6 separate regions of the Homo sapiens genome follow, and all the other regions are linked to region 1. The links are contacts of gene promoters, found by promoter capture Hi-C in blood cells and fetal thymus (Javierre and others, 2016). All regions are on one chromosome and are shown on one strand. The core of a region is centred on a gene start or on the middle of the fragment in contact, and the rest is flanking DNA. Distances in the headings are between cores, read along the strand shown.

Evidence for each region. Contacts are between HindIII fragments. The CHiCAGO score rates a contact against its expected background, and 5 or more counts as called.
Region 2: a contact is called between a fragment that was not itself captured here and the fragment with the promoter of LINC01148 in region 1, in 1 of 17 cell types (endothelial precursors). The highest score is 5.7, in endothelial precursors.
Region 3: a fragment that was not itself captured here is called in contact with the fragment with the promoter of LINC01148 in region 1 in 14 of 17 cell types (naive B cells, non-activated CD4 T cells, endothelial precursors and 11 more); the score reaches 52.7 in naive B cells.
Region 4: a fragment that was not itself captured here is called in contact with the fragment with the promoter of LINC01148 in region 1 in 3 of 17 cell types (total B cells, naive B cells and endothelial precursors); the score reaches 12.8 in total B cells.
Region 5: a fragment that was not itself captured here is called in contact with the fragment with the promoter of LINC01148 in region 1 in 7 of 17 cell types (total B cells, naive B cells, M0 macrophages and 4 more); the score reaches 14.9 in total B cells.
Region 6: a fragment that was not itself captured here is called in contact with the fragment with the promoter of LINC01148 in region 1 in 2 of 17 cell types (M0 macrophages and M2 macrophages); the score reaches 10.3 in M0 macrophages.

What each region holds. Positions count from the first base shown.
Region 1 is chr14:86,904,382-86,907,094 of GRCh38, forward strand. It overlaps LINC01148 (long intergenic non-protein coding RNA 1148), which reads left to right and starts at 1,397. Exons shown (of 5, transcript NR_038445.1): 1 at 1,397-1,668. The HindIII fragment of the contact is 4,593 bases long and covers 1-2,713 here.
Region 2 is chr14:81,971,437-81,974,149 of GRCh38, forward strand. The region is part of intron 3 of LOC107984704 (a long non-coding RNA gene); the gene reads left to right. Among named protein-coding and RNA genes, the nearest start is that of LINC02311, 230 kb to the left of the region's middle. The HindIII fragment of the contact is 378 bases long and covers 1,188-1,565 here.
Region 3 is chr14:81,989,167-81,991,879 of GRCh38, forward strand. All of the region lies in intron 3 of LOC107984704 (a long non-coding RNA gene), which reads left to right. Among named protein-coding and RNA genes, the nearest start is that of LINC02311, 250 kb to the left of the region's middle. The HindIII fragment of the contact is 624 bases long and covers 994-1,617 here.
Region 4 is chr14:82,008,449-82,011,161 of GRCh38, forward strand. All of the region lies in intron 3 of LOC107984704 (a long non-coding RNA gene), which reads left to right. Among named protein-coding and RNA genes, the nearest start is that of LINC02311, 270 kb to the left of the region's middle. The HindIII fragment of the contact is 6,325 bases long and covers 1-2,713 here.
Region 5 is chr14:82,703,207-82,705,919 of GRCh38, forward strand. The region is part of intron 5 of LINC02301 (long intergenic non-protein coding RNA 2301); the gene reads left to right. Among named protein-coding and RNA genes, the nearest start is that of LINC02301, 62 kb to the left of the region's middle. The HindIII fragment of the contact is 190 bases long and covers 1,212-1,401 here.
Region 6 is chr14:83,291,974-83,294,686 of GRCh38, forward strand. The region is part of intron 3 of LOC105370601 (a long non-coding RNA gene); the gene reads left to right. Among named protein-coding and RNA genes, the nearest start is that of LINC02305, 620 kb to the right of the region's middle. The HindIII fragment of the contact is 5,486 bases long and covers 1-2,713 here.

The DNA.
Region 1 (2,713 bases), core at 147-2,646:
ACAAACAGCTGCTCAAAAACAGCTATATACAACTCCATTAGAAAAGTCTAAAATTTAAAAACAGAAGAAAAGTGTTTTAAATCAAACAAAGGTACTATTTTTCCCAAACAGGCATATAAAATTTGCACTTATTTTATATTGAAAGATACATGCAACTTCATTTACCCGGCAGAACAATAATTTGTATGGCAAACATATCTCTGTGTCTGGAATTGGTTGGTTCTTGGTCTGACTTCAAGAGTGAAGCCACCACCCTTGCGGTGAGTGTTACAGTTCTTAAAGACGGCGTGTCCAGAGTTTGTTCCTTCTGAAGTTCGGATGTGTTCGGAGTTTCTTCCTTCTGGTGGGTTCGTGGTCTCCCCGGCTCAGGAGTGAAGCTGCACACCTTCCCAGTGTGTGTTACAACTCTTAAGACGGCGCGTCTGGAGTTGTTCCTTTCTCCCGGTGGGTTTGTGGTCTCGGTGGCTTCAGGAGTGAAACTGCAGACCTTCGCAGTGAGTGTTCCAGCTCATAAAGGCAGTGTGGACCCAAAGAATGAGCAGCAGCAAGATTTACTGCAGAGTGAGAGAACAACGCTCCCACAATGCAGAAGGAGACCCCAACGGTTGCCACTGCTAGGTCAGGCAGCCTGCTTTTATTCTCTTATCTGGCCTCATCCACATCCTGCTGATTGGTCCATTTTACAGAGAGCCGATTGGTCTGTTTTACAGAGAGCTGATTGGTCCGTTTTGACAGGGTGCTGATTGGTGCATTTACAATCCCTGAGCTAGACACAAAAGTTCTCCACGTCCCCACTAGATTAGCTAGATACAGAGTGCTGACTGGTGTATTTACAAACCCTCAGCTAGACACAAAGTGCTGATTGGTGCATTTACAAACCTTGAGCTAGATACAGAGTGCCAATTGGTGTATTCACAATCCCTTAACTAGACATAAAGATTCTCAAGTCCCCACTTGACTCAGGAGCCCAGCTGGCTTCACCTGGTGGATCTCCCACTGGGGCCCCAGGTGGAGGTGCTTACCAGCCCCGCGCCGTGCGCCCGCACTCCTCAGCCCTTGGGCGGTTGATGGGACCAGGCGCCTTGGAGCAGGAGGCGGCGTTCGTCCGGGAGACTCAGGCCGCGCAGGAGCCCACGGCGTCGTCGGGGCGGGGAGACTCAGGCATGGCAGGCTACAGGTCCCAAGCCCTGCCCCGCGGGGGAGCAGCTAAGGCCCAGCGAGAAATCGAGCGCAGCGCCGGTGGGCCAGCATTGCTGGGGGAACCGGCGCACCCTCCACAGCTGCTGGCCAGGATGCTAAGCCCCTCACTACCAGGGGCCGGCAGGGCCGGCTGGCCGCTCCGAGTGCGCGGCCCGCCAAGCCCACGCCCACCCGGAACTCTAGCTGGCCCGCAAGCGCAGCACGCAGCCCCGGTTCCCGCCCGTGCCTCTCCCTCCACACCTCCCTGCAGGCTGAGGGAGCCGGCTCCGGTCTCGGCCATCCCAGGAAGGGGCTCCCACAGTGCAGCGGCGGGCTGAAGGGCTCCTCAAGCGTGGCCAGAGTGGGCGCCAAGGCCGAGGAGGCGCCAAGAGGGAGCGAGGGCTGTGAGGACTGACAGCACGCTGTCACCTCGTCTCTACTTAGGTGAATGATGCCTTTGGCCTGCTTATGTCTTCCATAGCCACAATGGTGAGTACTTGTTTTCTACTCAGCTAATAAGAAAATAAGTTTTGGCGGTTTTCTGAGAGCAAAAGTATTTATTGCTTGCCCAAGATAAATCGACCTCTAAAGAGACAGAAACTATTTTAAAACAGTTTTAAAAACAACATTTTTCCGTTTACACAGAAAGTTTTAGTGTCAATTTCACCCCCTCCCCAAATACTATACCCTTTATAAATTATGGGTGTTTGTTTTTGTTTTTGTTTTTTGTTGTTGGTGGTGGTTGGTTGGTTGGTTTGTTTTGTGCCTCTTACTCTTAAAGTATGGTCATTTAGGAAGTCTATGTAATTTTGTGTCCCCTGATTGCCCCCTCTTAGAAAATTGAAATTCTTCAAGGTGGAAGAAACAACATATCTATATTTGTAATCCAAGTATCTAGAGATAACCTGGCTTATAGTAGGTGATCAGTAAAAGTTTGTTGAATAGAACCAAAAAAAGAGGAATATAGATGATACTGATATTAAAAATAAAATAAAAATGACATCCACTGAGTGTTAGGATATCACCGAGGGAAACCCCAGAAGATTATTTAGTATTGATTGACAAAAATTAACATTTCTAAATGATGCTTTGAATTAAGGATTCTTGGTCTATTCATGACAAGTCTTCCAATGTGAATTTATATCTCAAAATATTACATAACCTGTAAAGCTGAATCCATGAATGTGAAGTCCAGCTAAATTTGAGACTGATTCTAAATACAGTGGTAGAGTATGCAGTTTGCTATTGTTGTCTTCTGTCTTTCATAACAAAATAATTTATTTTCTTCCTATATTGGTCAGGAATATCCTGTCAAGAAGGGAGGTTATCTAATTGTTGAAATATCAACATTTTAAAAGAAGACTCCAGAAAAGAGGGTAATGCTAAACATAAAGTCATGTTATGATAATGAAGGTACTTCAGGTGCATTATGGAGCACATGTTGAGAAGGGGTTTTTGGCAAATAATGTCCCTCAATTATAAGACGTGGGCATCACTTGATCACATCAAATGAGTCTATAGTTTAAGCCAGTCA
Region 2 (2,713 bases), core at 127-2,626, 4.9 Mb before region 1:
CAGAGAAATCTACTGATTTATTTAAGATCAAGCACAAAACTAATTAGTGCAAAACTGGGTCCCTGTATTCCTCACTTCTCTTCATTCCCACAGCCTTATACCAACTCTTATGTTCTACATCCTTCCCTTCCCTTTCATTCCCTTCACCTCCTCTTCCTCTTCTTCATTCTCATTCCTTCCTTCTTTTTCTTCTTCTTTAATGTGGTAGCTAGATTTTAATCACATGGACAAAAGTTGTTTTCAAGAATGAGAAAAAATATGCTAATTCAAATGCAACTCATAAGTAGACCTTCTCCCTTGTCACTGAGAAAGGCTTTTACTTGTACATTCTGTGTCATCAAAACCTTACAATATGTCATAGGGCTTCACTCACTAATTAAGGATTCTGTAAAATATAGGTTGTCATGTGAGGATAGAGCCTGGAATGTGCCATATCTTGAGATAAGAACTTTAGGAAAAATGTCTTCAGTGTATAATACAAAATAACCACGGAAACCACATTCTTCAATGAATGGTCATCTTAACCTTTTATTCACCAGCAGTTTTTAACCTTCTTAGCCTGAAGTCATCCTTTAGAGTTTAGATCATTTTAAAGCATTTTTATTTTATTCATTTAAAAAATCCTGTGGAAGAGGCAGTATAAGGTGTTGACAGCTAAAAAGGCAGTAAGCCAAGGAAAAAAAGCCTGTTGGCTGACGTTTTGAAGGGGATCTGAGCTGTATGCTTCTAACTGCCTTTCTTAGTGGTCTAGTGTTCTTTCTTACTCCTGTGTGATTTATATAACCCTCAATTACTGGGTAGCACCTGTACAGCAGAATCACATGATGTTAGTGCTGGCAAGGGACTAAGAGATCCAACAACCTTCATTTCATTGATGAGCTTCGGAAGGGTGAAATGACATATCCAAGGTCACTTTCTAATTCTTCTCTTGGATTTGATTTCCTTTGGATATAAAGGTAGGTTGTTCTTTACTTTCTGGAAAGATGGAATTTCAATATAAGAAAGATCTTTATGGCAATTTGACCCTGGAGACTTTAAATGGAGCAGGAAATTCCAAATTATGATTCCCACAACAGTTTTAACTTGGCCACGGTCGGCATGATCATTAAGGTACAGTCTGTGGGATTACTACGTTAGCGTGTTTTCTTATAGCTTTAAAAAATTTAATTGAATTTGTATTATGTGTAAGCTTGGTAGGTGCCTTTGTAGGGAAGAATTTTTCTGTCAACCAAACATATTGCTTTAGGAGAAAAACAGAAAGGGCAAAAGTAACTCAAGAGAATCAGGTCTGTTTCAACAAAGGACTCTCCCTGGATATGGGATGCACAGAGCTGAGACTAGGCAGAGTGCCACTGAGCTATTTTGCCAAGCTCATTAAATTCTCTCTTGCCTGCCATAATTACCAACAAGTTAAGAAGGTGTTTTGTCGTCCTCATCTTTCTGAGGCATCGGAGTTGTAGGATTATTCCCCTGCCAAAGTGGCAGTCCTGTCTGCCTTGGTGAAGTTTGACTTTCTACCCATGACTGTGTAGCACTACTTGGAGACAATTGTGAACAATTTTAGAAGCTTGTCAGGGGATTAGAGTTTAAAAAGTCTTGACAAAATCCAGTTGAATGTAGTTAAAGGAAAATATACTGTATCTCCAAATAAAATTAAAAAATTAAAGTTTTAACTTGCATTCTTTTCCTAAAATTGTGTGCGTTCCTTTAATAATCATTTCTTTCCACCCTGTTAATTTACACAAGTGGAAATGGAGGTGTAGAGGCAGCAGGAGTCATGGCCAAGATCAGGAGTGGCAGGGAACAAAACAGAAGCCTACAACCTATCATGTAGCACAGTACTTGGAAATAAAATGGAATTGTTAAAGAATGAATGAATCCAGGTTTACGAATTTCCACTCATTACTTTTTTCATTACACCATGATTACCTGCCCATTGGGTCCCTCCTCTCATTCGCTTATCTCCTCTAGTTTCAGATGACCCCATTTGCATTCTAGCTGACCTGCATTCAAGTTGGGAAACTTGAGTCCTCATTCACCAGGGCAGTCCCAAGATCTGTGTCTTTCCACATGGCTTGAACAGGTGCTTCAATCAGTGTGCTAATTTGGGATTGCTGAGAGCACAAATCCCTATCTACTTGTTTCTTTTACCACGGACATTTTTAATCAAGCATCTAATTTGGTCCTGGGGGACTTCACTCTGCTTTAATAATACATGTGACAAAATTTACCTCTTTGCTTTCAAAGTTGTTAATTATGGAGTGAATTTCAAATGAGCTATTGCAGCTGAGAAATCATCCCTTTTAGTTGCTTATATACTTTAATACTGGAAAGAAGTAAAAAGCCATGAAGGGTTATAAAATACCTCTCCATATGGACAGTAGTGCTTTGGGGGAACCAAACAGGGTAGTCATGAGGACTTTTTGGTGCTGGGCTTATATCAAGTTGTTTTCAGGTTATGCTGCAGACTTTACATGACCCAGAGGGCTTAACCCACTTTCAAAGCAGATGGAAGAAGATCAGATTTAGGGAGGGAGCCCTCAGATAGATGAGTGAGCTAGGTCATTGATCTCTTTAAGGAAGTAGAATCAGTTGCTTCAGGGGAAGACAGGTTCTTTATGCCTTCCAAAGTGAGCATAGCCAATTGCAGGTTGTTCCAGGCTTCTGGTGAACCTCGGGTGTATTCTCAAAATTATGTGTTGTGAATTCTTAA
Region 3 (2,713 bases), core at 56-2,555, 4.9 Mb before region 1:
TGTTATTCTCAGACTTATTGCCATTGCACACTTAACGGACTACAGTACAGTGTAGGCATATAATGGACCTGTTGGAGGAAGTCTTATGAGTATGGCATGATTATTTTCCTAAATCTTTTTAATAGTGATGATTATAAGGCTATTATAAAGTAAGTGCTTTAAAAATCTCACATACTTACATATTTCGCCTGTTGAAATTCATTAGGAAGTGGTTCTGTTTCTACTTCCTTCTTGCTCCCCCTCCCAAGAGCATAACTTCCCATTTTTCCTGAATCTACATATCTGGCCAAATTGAAAGTGCTGCTCATAAAACAAATATGTATAACCAAAGTGAAATAACCTGAGTATAATAATTTTTATCTTCCACGTACATTCATTCTTTTAAACTTCCAAGTCTTATCGAATCATTTCACCTTCTTTGAGACTATTGTGATAACTGGATGGGAATTCAGATATATCCTACCATTCGTATAGACTCAATGCAGAAATCTTCTGATCAACATACTTGTCTTTCTCTTTTGGCGTCACCATCCTTTCTTCTTGTTACAGCCTTCCTTGAGGCACAGAAAGTAGATTTCTAACTTCTCAGGGAAACTTATGATCCAATGAGCTCATTCTGGGTAGTTTCTTCCCTTCAATATTACAAATTTGAAATCATTAGTCACTTTACCATGAAGAGAAGTTAGGGGTGATGATGTTAAGAGGTGAAGATTGGCCTTTATTGGGAGCTTATGTGTGTCAGGTATTTGCAGGGAACTTTATGTGTATGACCACATTTAATCCTCATGCCAAGCATCTCAGTAAGTGTACATGGAATGAATGGATGAACAATGGCACTGAAGTGTTGCCCATTTTCTGTATTAAGAAAAATAATATTTAAAGATGTGACATAACTCCTGAATTTCCAGGCAGCTTATAATTGTTCAGAGCTTGTTCTGACAACAAAAGCTTATATGAGTAACCAAATGGTTATGCTATTCCTTTTCAGTTTTAAGCTTCAAGGGAATGAATATGAATATAGAGATGCTCAGATTTACTGTGGTTGAAGAAATGAGGGGAAAGTGACTGCCCTTCTCATGGGTAAAATAATTAGATTATAGGTGAGGGTTGCTATTAAAAATTCTCTAGCAGAAGGTACCTATGGTCCCATGACTGGCTGTAGAAATTCCTCTCTACAAGGACTTTCATACCTAATCAAAAGAACGCTTTCCCTCATCTCCCAACTTTGAATTCTCTCATCGCCATTTGAGAAAGTTCAGAAGCATATGTTGCTCTTCCATCACACACCAGTAGATGGCAGCAAAAGTCCATCCTTAGCTCCTAAAAGTTTGCCTCTGAGTTCCTGCACAATGCAAAGATAAAGGCAGCTTTTAAAAATATAATAATCTACCTCCTTACCTGACACGTCGGAAGGGCTGATTTTCCAGGTCACACATGTCTTATTACTTTCGAAAATAATCATGTGGAAAGGCTTTTCATTGTGTTTGCTGTTACATTTCTGCACAGTGGTGACTGCGAAGCCAAAATCAAACTAATAGCAGGGGAAAAAAAAAAGTGACAACCCAAGAGAAGTGCATATAATTTCCGTTAAGAATGTTCCTCATGGGTTTTCAAAGAAGCTTTCATCACCAAATCTGATCAGTGAAGCAGTCTTGTTCATAAATAATTTATCAGTCTCTCTTCTCTATCTCATCCTTCCTACCAGTGAAACAAGCAAAATGCAACTTTGGGTGAATTCTCTTTTAAGAATATCTGAGGAGAAACATTTTTCACCAGTCTTCACTGTTAGAAATGTAGCTACAGCATAATGTAAACCATATACAACAAAAGAGGGTTTTTTTGTTGTTATTTAATTGGAATTTTCTTTTTGAAGGCTGTTACCCTTGGCATTTAGCATTTTACGTTAGTATTTATTTGATTTTCAGCCTGTTGCTGGCTAGTTCATCTGGGCAACATGCTTTGGATATTATGGATAATGTACAGTGATTGGCCTGAATTTAAAACAAATTGGTTTCCTGACCTGGAAGAGAGGAACCGTTAGTATAGGCACAGTGTTGCTACTGCCTAACTATTTGACAAGCAAATAACCTCTCCTAGCCTTTGTTTCATTTTTCCCTAAAATGAGGATAAGCGTAGCTTATGGAATTGTTGTGAGGATTATATAAAATTAAATGCATCAATGCAATAAACTTCTAGCTTAGTTATATGCTAAAAATTCGCTGATAACTGAATGTGAATTGAAAGAGAGGAGACTGGTGATAGCTAAGATGACTCCAGTTTTAAGTGTCTGTGATTCTGTTAGTTTCTTTCCACTCAACCCTAGAGTTACTGATATTCATCTTAAGAGGGGAAGACACTTGAAAGATGCTGAGATGAAAATGTTACGAAGGATGAGAGAATTTGCCGTGGAGAAGAGTGGTCTGATTTTTACTACTAAGAAGTGGCTTTAGTTCATCCTTGCCAAAAGTTCATCATCCATAAGTGAGCACTGTTGGAAAAGAAGGAGAAGAATGATACCATGAGGAAGAAGCAAAATATGAAAAACAAAGCCTCTGAAGGAATAAAAAAAAGATACTATCATTTTTTGCACTTGATCCATGGAAAACTGTCTAGGATCTGAAAACAAGGAAGATGGTGTTGAGGAATGCCTCAAAAATTAGGTAAAGTACAAAATAATAGAGACTCTTGCCCAAGAGTCTCTTATTTTAATTTT
Region 4 (2,713 bases), core at 78-2,577, 4.9 Mb before region 1:
CAGTGATAATAAGTGTGGCTAACCTGTATCGAATCATTATTTTTACCTAGTGAAAGCACCGTACTCTTGCCAATTTATTTAATGCTGAGAACAATCTTGGTGCAGGTATCATTATGTGTATCTTACCTTTAAAATATCAAAGACATACCAAGGTTAATTAGTTTGCCCAAGGTCATTCAGCTACCAAGAAGGGAAGCTAATATTTGACCCCCAGTTCTGTATTCCTAAGGCCATATGAGCTGCTTCCCACTGATATGATTTATGTTGAAATCATAGAAGCAGCTGGATAGAAAAAGTTAACTATTAATTAATCATAATTAAGAATAATAACTCATCTGACTAGTACTTTACCACTTCTTTTAATATGTAGCATATTATTCAATTAAAAAGCATAATTTTATTGTATATATATATATATATAACACCTTTCCAATTTGGAGGAATTACCAATAAAATACAAATAAACAACCTTAAATTTCAACATCCAGAGATAACTTTCTTCAAGATTCTTTAAAAAATAGATATCTGGGTGCATATTTTGTTTGTTTTCTCCCTGTATATGTACGTGTGTGTATGTGTGATGCTGTTCATGTTTCTTTAATAATATAGCAAATAATATCAGTAACTTTTCTTCATGTTCACAATATTTCGTGGTATCCCATTTTGTGGTTGTGCCATAAATCATTTCTTTGGCGTTTATATTGACTCATTCACTTTGATCCCTGAGGTTTTTGTTTTCTTGTAGCATTGCACCCATTTTTTTCCCCTAGGGGGCAGTAGCTGAACCATTAGTTGTTCTACATCTGATTACTCCTCAGCTCATTTGCATGAGCCTTTTTCTCATTATAATATTATTAACACAGTCTATGCTCAGGCCACAGTTCAAACGTTGCTGGACCCTCTGCTCAATTAGGTCAAACTCCAACTGGATTACTGACCCTGTCCTCTTGGAGTCAGAGTGCAAACATTCCAAGTTTTCTTCTTTGCTTCTGCACCAGGTACTTGCTGACTTGTACATATTTCTTGGACTTTAATAACTCAACTCATTTTATTTTTTGTCAGTTAAATTGAAACCATTTTTTAATCCATAAAAAATTCTTTTGATGAATAAAGCCTCTCAAAAAATTAGGTTGTTTGCAATGATCACTTAATTTTTCCGCAATACTGTGTGGTCTGTACAGCAGATATTACCATCATCACTCATTGACAGATAAGATTATGAAGTGTCAAGCAAATCAGTGATTTAACCAGTGACATTAGATCCTAATGGCAGTTTCAGAGCCTGAGGACCCAGGACTCCTAACGCCAAATGTGAATGTCTTACCTTTAGTCACATTAGCTCCAATGGTAAGAAATACTATGAATTTCTGAGCTATAGAAAGAAAGCATGGGTATCATTTTTGTTTACTGAATTACATTATGTTCTCAGTTTCAAATTTTAACTGACTTGAGAAGTGGTTAACTGGTTATGACTAAGTACAGAAACTGATATAAATTTTTACTGTGATTCTCCTGTTAATCAGATTTCAATGACATTTCATTGCCTGCCTTCGGGATAAAGTTCAAAGTTTTTGATTTGGCATTTAAGATACTTTACTCTCTGGGTTCAGTCTATCCTTTCTCATTCCATCATTTATTACTTCTTTACAGGAATACATTGTCTCATTTAAACTTCTTTCCTCACTGTAGTCCAAATGCTTCATGGGTTATCTTTACCCTACACAGAACTTTAATGTTTAACCTTTCCCTCATTTACCTACCAATAAATGTCTTACGTAACATAGTTCACAGTTCAAGCTAATTGGCACCTCTCCCATAAAGCCTTTCCTTACCAGTCCAGCTAAAAGAGATCTCTTATTTCCTTAGAATCAGAGAGGATTTAGCATCTCTTGAATGAAATCTTTATGCTGTATTTTCTTAAATAGATTACCTGTATTTAAAATGTTTCATTTATACCTCAAAGGGATCTTACCAATAATCTCTACTTGAGAGAACTGCATTCTTAAAAAATAGTTTTGATTATTTGACTGCTAGGAAATTATAGATGTCAGGGACAACTTTAAATAAAGGGGCAAACAAATGCTTAACATGATTTTCAGAGCTCTAAGTTCATCTTCCTGTCTCAAAATATATCCTTTATCTCCAATGATGTCCGAAATGTCTTGCAGAAGTCGTGGTAGCTATTAAAGATTAAATTATTTTGGAATTTCATTTTATATTTTAGAACAAAATACTTTATGGAGAGGTTCAAGGTAGTTGATTAGATGTAGCTGGGATGCACCTCTTCCATAAAGAGGAGCCAAAACATTGAGTAAAACATACTTCAAACACATCTTTTGAGAGGGAACACTGAAATTCAATAGGGAGGTGATGGAAGACACTGTGATTGAAGAAGGAAAAAACAGGGCTGCCTACTTAACATCGCTGGGTGCCGGGACCAGCCCTCAGACCCAGACCCAGGCCCAAGGAAGGGGTAAGTGAAGGAACCCCAGGATACCACATTCCTGCTGCTGGCCCCTGGGATCCTAGCTACAAGAGAGTTCCACGACCCCCACAGACCTTTGGACTGGCAGAAGGAGCTGCCCAGAGACCATGCAGAGGCACTGCTTGAACTTGCATGAAACCCCAAAGGCTTCAGTGTTCTGGGGAGCTACAGCAAAATGCAATCCTTGGTGCCTACCCCCCAAGGCTCAGCATCCTTTCCTATGCAGCT
Region 5 (2,713 bases), core at 57-2,556, 4.2 Mb before region 1:
AACATCTTCTTTGCTGTTTCAAACTGTGTTTGTTTGGATCTTCTCTCTCTATTTTTATTAGTCTAGCTAGTGGACTATTTCATTAATTTCTTTCAAAAAACCAGTGAAATATTGATCATTTGAATGGTTTTTTTGTGTCTCAATTTCCTTCAGTTCAGTTCTGATATTTATTATTTGTTGTCTTCTGCTAGATTTGGGGTTGATTTGCTCTTGCTTCTCTAATTCTTTCAGTTGTGATGTTAGGCTGCCAATTTGTGATCTTTCTAATTTTTTGATGTGGGCATTTATTGCCATAAATTTCCCTCTGTGCACTGCCTTAGCCGTGTTTCAGATACATTGGTATGTTGTATCTTTGTTCTCGTTAGTTTCAAATAGCCTCTTGATTTCTGCATTTATTTCATTATTTTCCAAGAAGTCATTCAGGAGCACATTGTTTAATATCCATGTGGTCGTATGGTTTTGAGTGATTTTCCTAGTCTTGACTTCTGTTTTTATTGTGCTGTGGTCTGAGAGTGTGTTTGATATAATTTTGGTTCTTTTGCACTTGCTGAGGATTGTTTCATTTCTGACCGTGTTCTTGATTTTACAGTATGTGCTATGTGGCAATGAGAAGAATGTCTATTTTGTTGTTTTGGGAGTGGAGTGTTCTGCAGAGGTCTGTTAGAGCCATTTGGTCCAATGTTTAGTTAAGGTCCTGAATATCTTTGTTAATTTTCTGCTGCAGTGATCTGTCTGATACTGTCAGTGGAGCATTGAAGTCTCCCACTATCACTGTGTGGGAGTCTAAGTCTCCTTTTAGATCTTGCTTTATAAATCTAGGTTCTCCTGTGTTGAGTGCTGTATATGTAGGGTAGTTAGGTCTTCTCATTGAATTGAACCTTTTACCATTATGTAATGGCCTTCTGTGTCTTTTTTGATCTTAGTTGGTTTAAAGTCTGTTTTGTCTGAAATTAGGGTTGCAACCCCTGTTTTTTTTTTCTGTTTTCTTCATTTGCTTGGTAGATTTTCCTCCATCCCTTTATTTTGAGTGTATTGGTGTCACTGCATGTAAGATGGGTCTTTTGATGACTGCATATCATTGGGTCTTTCGTTTTGTTCAGATTGCCGCTCTTTGCTGTTTAAATAGAGCATTTAGCTCATTTACATTCAAGGTTAGTGTTGATATGTGTGGATTTAATCCTGTGATTGCATTTTTAGCTGGTTATTATGCAAGCTTGTTTGCGTAGTTGCTTCATAGTATCACTGGTCTGTGTATTTAACTGTTTTTTCTATTGGCTAGTTAGTCGTTTCTTTCCATATTTAGTGCTCATTTCAAGATCTTTTGTAAAATGGGTCTGGTTGTAATGAGTTCCCTAAGAATTTGCTTATCTGAAAACAGTCTTATTTTTTTTTCATGTAGAAAGCTTCATTTAGTTGTATATGAAATTCTTAGTTGAAAATTTTTCTCTAAGAATGTTGAGTATAGGCCCCCAATCTCTCTTGACTTGGAGGGTTTCTGCTGAGAGGTTTTTTGTTAGCCTGATGGGGTTCCTCTTCAGGTAACCTGCCCTTTCTCTCTAGCTGCCTTTAACATTCTCTTTTTCATTTCAACCTTGGAAAATCTGATGATCATGTGTCTTGGGGTAATCTTACGTAGAATCTTGCAGGAGTTCCTTGCATTTCCTGAATTTGACTATCGGCCTCTATAGTGAGGTTCAGGAAGTTTTTATAAATGATATCCTAAAATATGTTTTCCATGTCGTTTGATTTTTGCCTATCCCTTTTGGGGATGCCAGTGATTTGTACCTTTTCCCTCTTTACATGATCCCATATTTCTCAGAGGATATGTTTTTTCCTTCTCTTTTTCCTTTCCTTTTCTTTTTTTTTTTTTTTCCTGACTGTTTTATTTCAGAGAATCAGTCTTTAAGATCAGAGTCTTACCTTAGCTTGGCCTATTCTGCTGTTAAAACTTGCAATTGCATTATGAAAATCCTGTAGTGTGTTTTTCAGCTTTATCAGATCAGTTAGGTTCTTTTTTCATCCTGGCTACTTCATCTGTCAGCTCCTGTATTATTTTATTGTGATTCTTAGGTTCCTTAGATTGGGTTTTGATGTTCTCTTGAATCCTAATGATTTTCATTCCATATTCTGAATTCTATTCTTGTCATTTCAGCCAGCTTAACCTAAGAACTCTTGTTGGAGTACTGGTACAATGATTTGGAGGACATAAGCCACTCTGGTCCTTGGAGTTGCCAGAGTTCTTGAGTTAGTTCTTTTTCATATCTACATGTAGGTGTTCCTTTAACTGTGATGTAGATTAAGTACAGTTAACAGACTTCTTTTCTGGATGTTTTCACGTAGCTGAGCCTTTGTGCAGTGTTTTTATTTATAGCTGACTTCTTGTCTTTGGTTTCACAGGTTATATTAGTGAGGTATTTTTGGACTTAAAGCTCAGAGGTATGATCCAGTAAGTAGCACTTAGGCATAGTGGCCAGGTAGTTGGCTCTTGCTCAGTCGTGTGGCTCTCATATATTTCTTCACAGTTGCAGTCATGTTCCCTCTCAATGCTCTGCAAGTGTGGGCTCTTCTCCCACTTGACTGCTGGCTGTAGATTACGGCTTGGCACTCCTGAGCTGCCATCCACAGCTCTGGGGTGACGTTAGGGTTTATGTTTATCATCCTATGGAATAAGAGTGGAGCATGTGCAAAAGAGAAAAGCACAAAACACTGAGCC
Region 6 (2,713 bases), core at 144-2,643, 3.6 Mb before region 1:
TTGTTGAGAAACAAATTACTTAATTTACTTCTGAAACGTGCTGCCAATCACAAATTTCCATCCATATATAAAGGGTGGTGATAATGATAATAAAAATGCTAGAAAAGGCCTTTTGCAGGGAAGCAGAGAACCCTCTCTAATGACTCCCATCATTTTGGTGCATCACTATTTAACAAAGATATTGGCCTGTAGTTTTCTTTTTTTTGATGTGTCTTTGTTTGGTATTTATATCAGGGTAATACTGGCCTCATAGAATGAGTTTAGAAGTATTCAAGTATTCCCTTCTCCTCTGTTTTTTGGAATAGTTTGAATAGGATTAGTATTAGTTCTTCTTTATATGTTTGGTAGAATTCAGGGAAGCCACCATGTCCCTGGCTTTTACAGGGAAGCCACCAGGTCCTGAGCCCTTTATTGGGAGACTTTTTATTATGGCTTCCATCTTGCTACTTGTTACTGATCAATTCAGGTTTTGGATGTCTTCAGGGTTCAATTTTGGTAGGTTGTATGTATTTAGGAATTTGTTCATTTCTTCTAGATTTTCCAATTTATTGGCATGTAGTTGCTCATAGTGACCGCTAATAATCATGTGAATTACTGCAGTATTAGTTATAATGTCTCCTTTTTCATTTCTGATTTATTTGTATCTTCTCTTTTTTCTTAGTCTGACAAAAGGTTTGTCAATTTTGTTTAACTTTTTAAAAAACTAACTTCTCTTTCATTGATCTTTTTTATTGTTTTCTTCATCTCAATTTAATTTCTTTTTTGCTCTGATTTTTATTATTTATTTTCTACTTATTTTGGGTTTGGTTTTCTCTTGCTTTTCTAGTTCTTTAAGATGCATCATTAGATTTTTTTTAAGTGTCTCTTCTTTTTTGATGTATGCACATATAAACTTCCCTCATAGTACTAGTTTTGCTGTATCCCATAGATTTAGGTATGTTTTGTTTCCATTATCATTTGTTTCAATAATTTTTTCAATTCCTTCTTAATTTCTTCATTGACTCACTGGTCGTTCAGGAGTATATTATTTAATTTCCATGTATTTTTGTAGTTCAAAAATTCCTCATTATTAATTTATAGTTTTATTCCATTGTGGTCTGAAAAGATGCTTATATTATCTCAAGTTTTTTGAATGTTTTAAGACTTGTTTTGTAACCTAACCTATGACCTGTCCTTGAAGTTTCAGCCATACACCTCAGTTGATAATCTTTTATTCATTTAAATAGACACACTTTGAGTTAGACCTCTGTGTGAGCTAACAAATTAGAAAACGTACACAGAATATTATTTCAAGGAGCACATACCCTTGAAGATACAATTGAGGAAAACAACTAGCTAGGAAAAAGATATTGGCTATAACATATGATTCAAAGTGTATAATGAGCATGTTGTAGGACAAAAATATCTTGGTTTTGGATAGCAGGCCTAACATTAAGGCTGATCCAAGTCAATGAGCCTGCAGCTTGTCCACTTTGCTAATCCCTTTTACATAAAATTAAATAAGAACACAAAATTGTGAATACACAATTTCTGCATCCTCAGAATCTTCAGAATCTTAGAAGGAACTGTGCAAATGGGGAATTCTGGAGCTTAATTCTCATGGTAACTCTACTCTTGCTGTGTAGCAAACACTGCCCTGGATTTCTTGAAATAATTTTCATTCACAAACTCTATTGTATAGTAAGACAGGGGACGCTAGGAATAAATTTTCCTATTTTTTTCTTGTTTGAATAAATGTTAACTCCTCATCTTCACTCCTACCTCTTTTGCCATGCATCTTCTATTAATTCTCCAAATTACGTCCAAATGATCTTTTCATATCCTAATCAAATCTTAGCACTCCCTTGCTTAAAACTTTCTAATGGCTTCCGATTATGCTGTGAACTAAACCCTGAAACTTTACAATGACCCACAAAACCTATGTGATCTGCCCTTTCCAGTCTCTGATCTGAGTCCGTACAATTCATCCACATGGTCTTGGTTCTAGAAACTGGGCCTTCTCTCCTTCCTTCCTTCCTTCCTTCCTTCCCTCTTTCATCCCTTCCTCCTCTCCCCTCCCCTTCCTCCCTTCCTCTCGCTTTCCTCCCCTCCTCTCCCTGCCTCTCCTCTCCTATCCTTCTTTGTTTCTTTCTCTCTCTTTTTTCTTTCTTTTCCTTCCTTCCTTCCTTCCTTCCTTCCTTCCTTCCTTCCTTCCTTCCTTCCTTCCTTCCTTCTTTCCTCCCTCTCTCTCTTCCTCCCTCCCTCCTTTCCTTCTTTTCCTCATTCTTTTTTTCCTTTTCTTTCTTTATTTTCTTCCCTTGAATGTGGCAGAGGTATTATTATTGAAGGGCTTTTGAACTTGTTGGTTCTTCTTTCACCTCTAAGAAGCCACGTATTTTGCATCGTGGCATGGGTGTTTTCTTTTCATCAATTAGATCTCAGCTCAAGTTTTACTTCTTTAGCAACATTTTCTATAACCACACTAATGTTGTCCTCTACCCATCTAGTCACTGGTCACTTGCTGTTTCATTCATGTGTTTCATTTCTTTGTAGCTGGAAATAAAAAAATATATATTTTTAAATTCATGTAACTTTTCTACTTTTTCCCACTGCAATATAAATTTATGAAGGCAAACACTTTGTCTTCTTTTTCCCTGCTATATCTACTGTGCATAGGACACATAGTAGAGGTTAAATGATTGTTTGATAAAAGATTGGATGAATTACATGAATC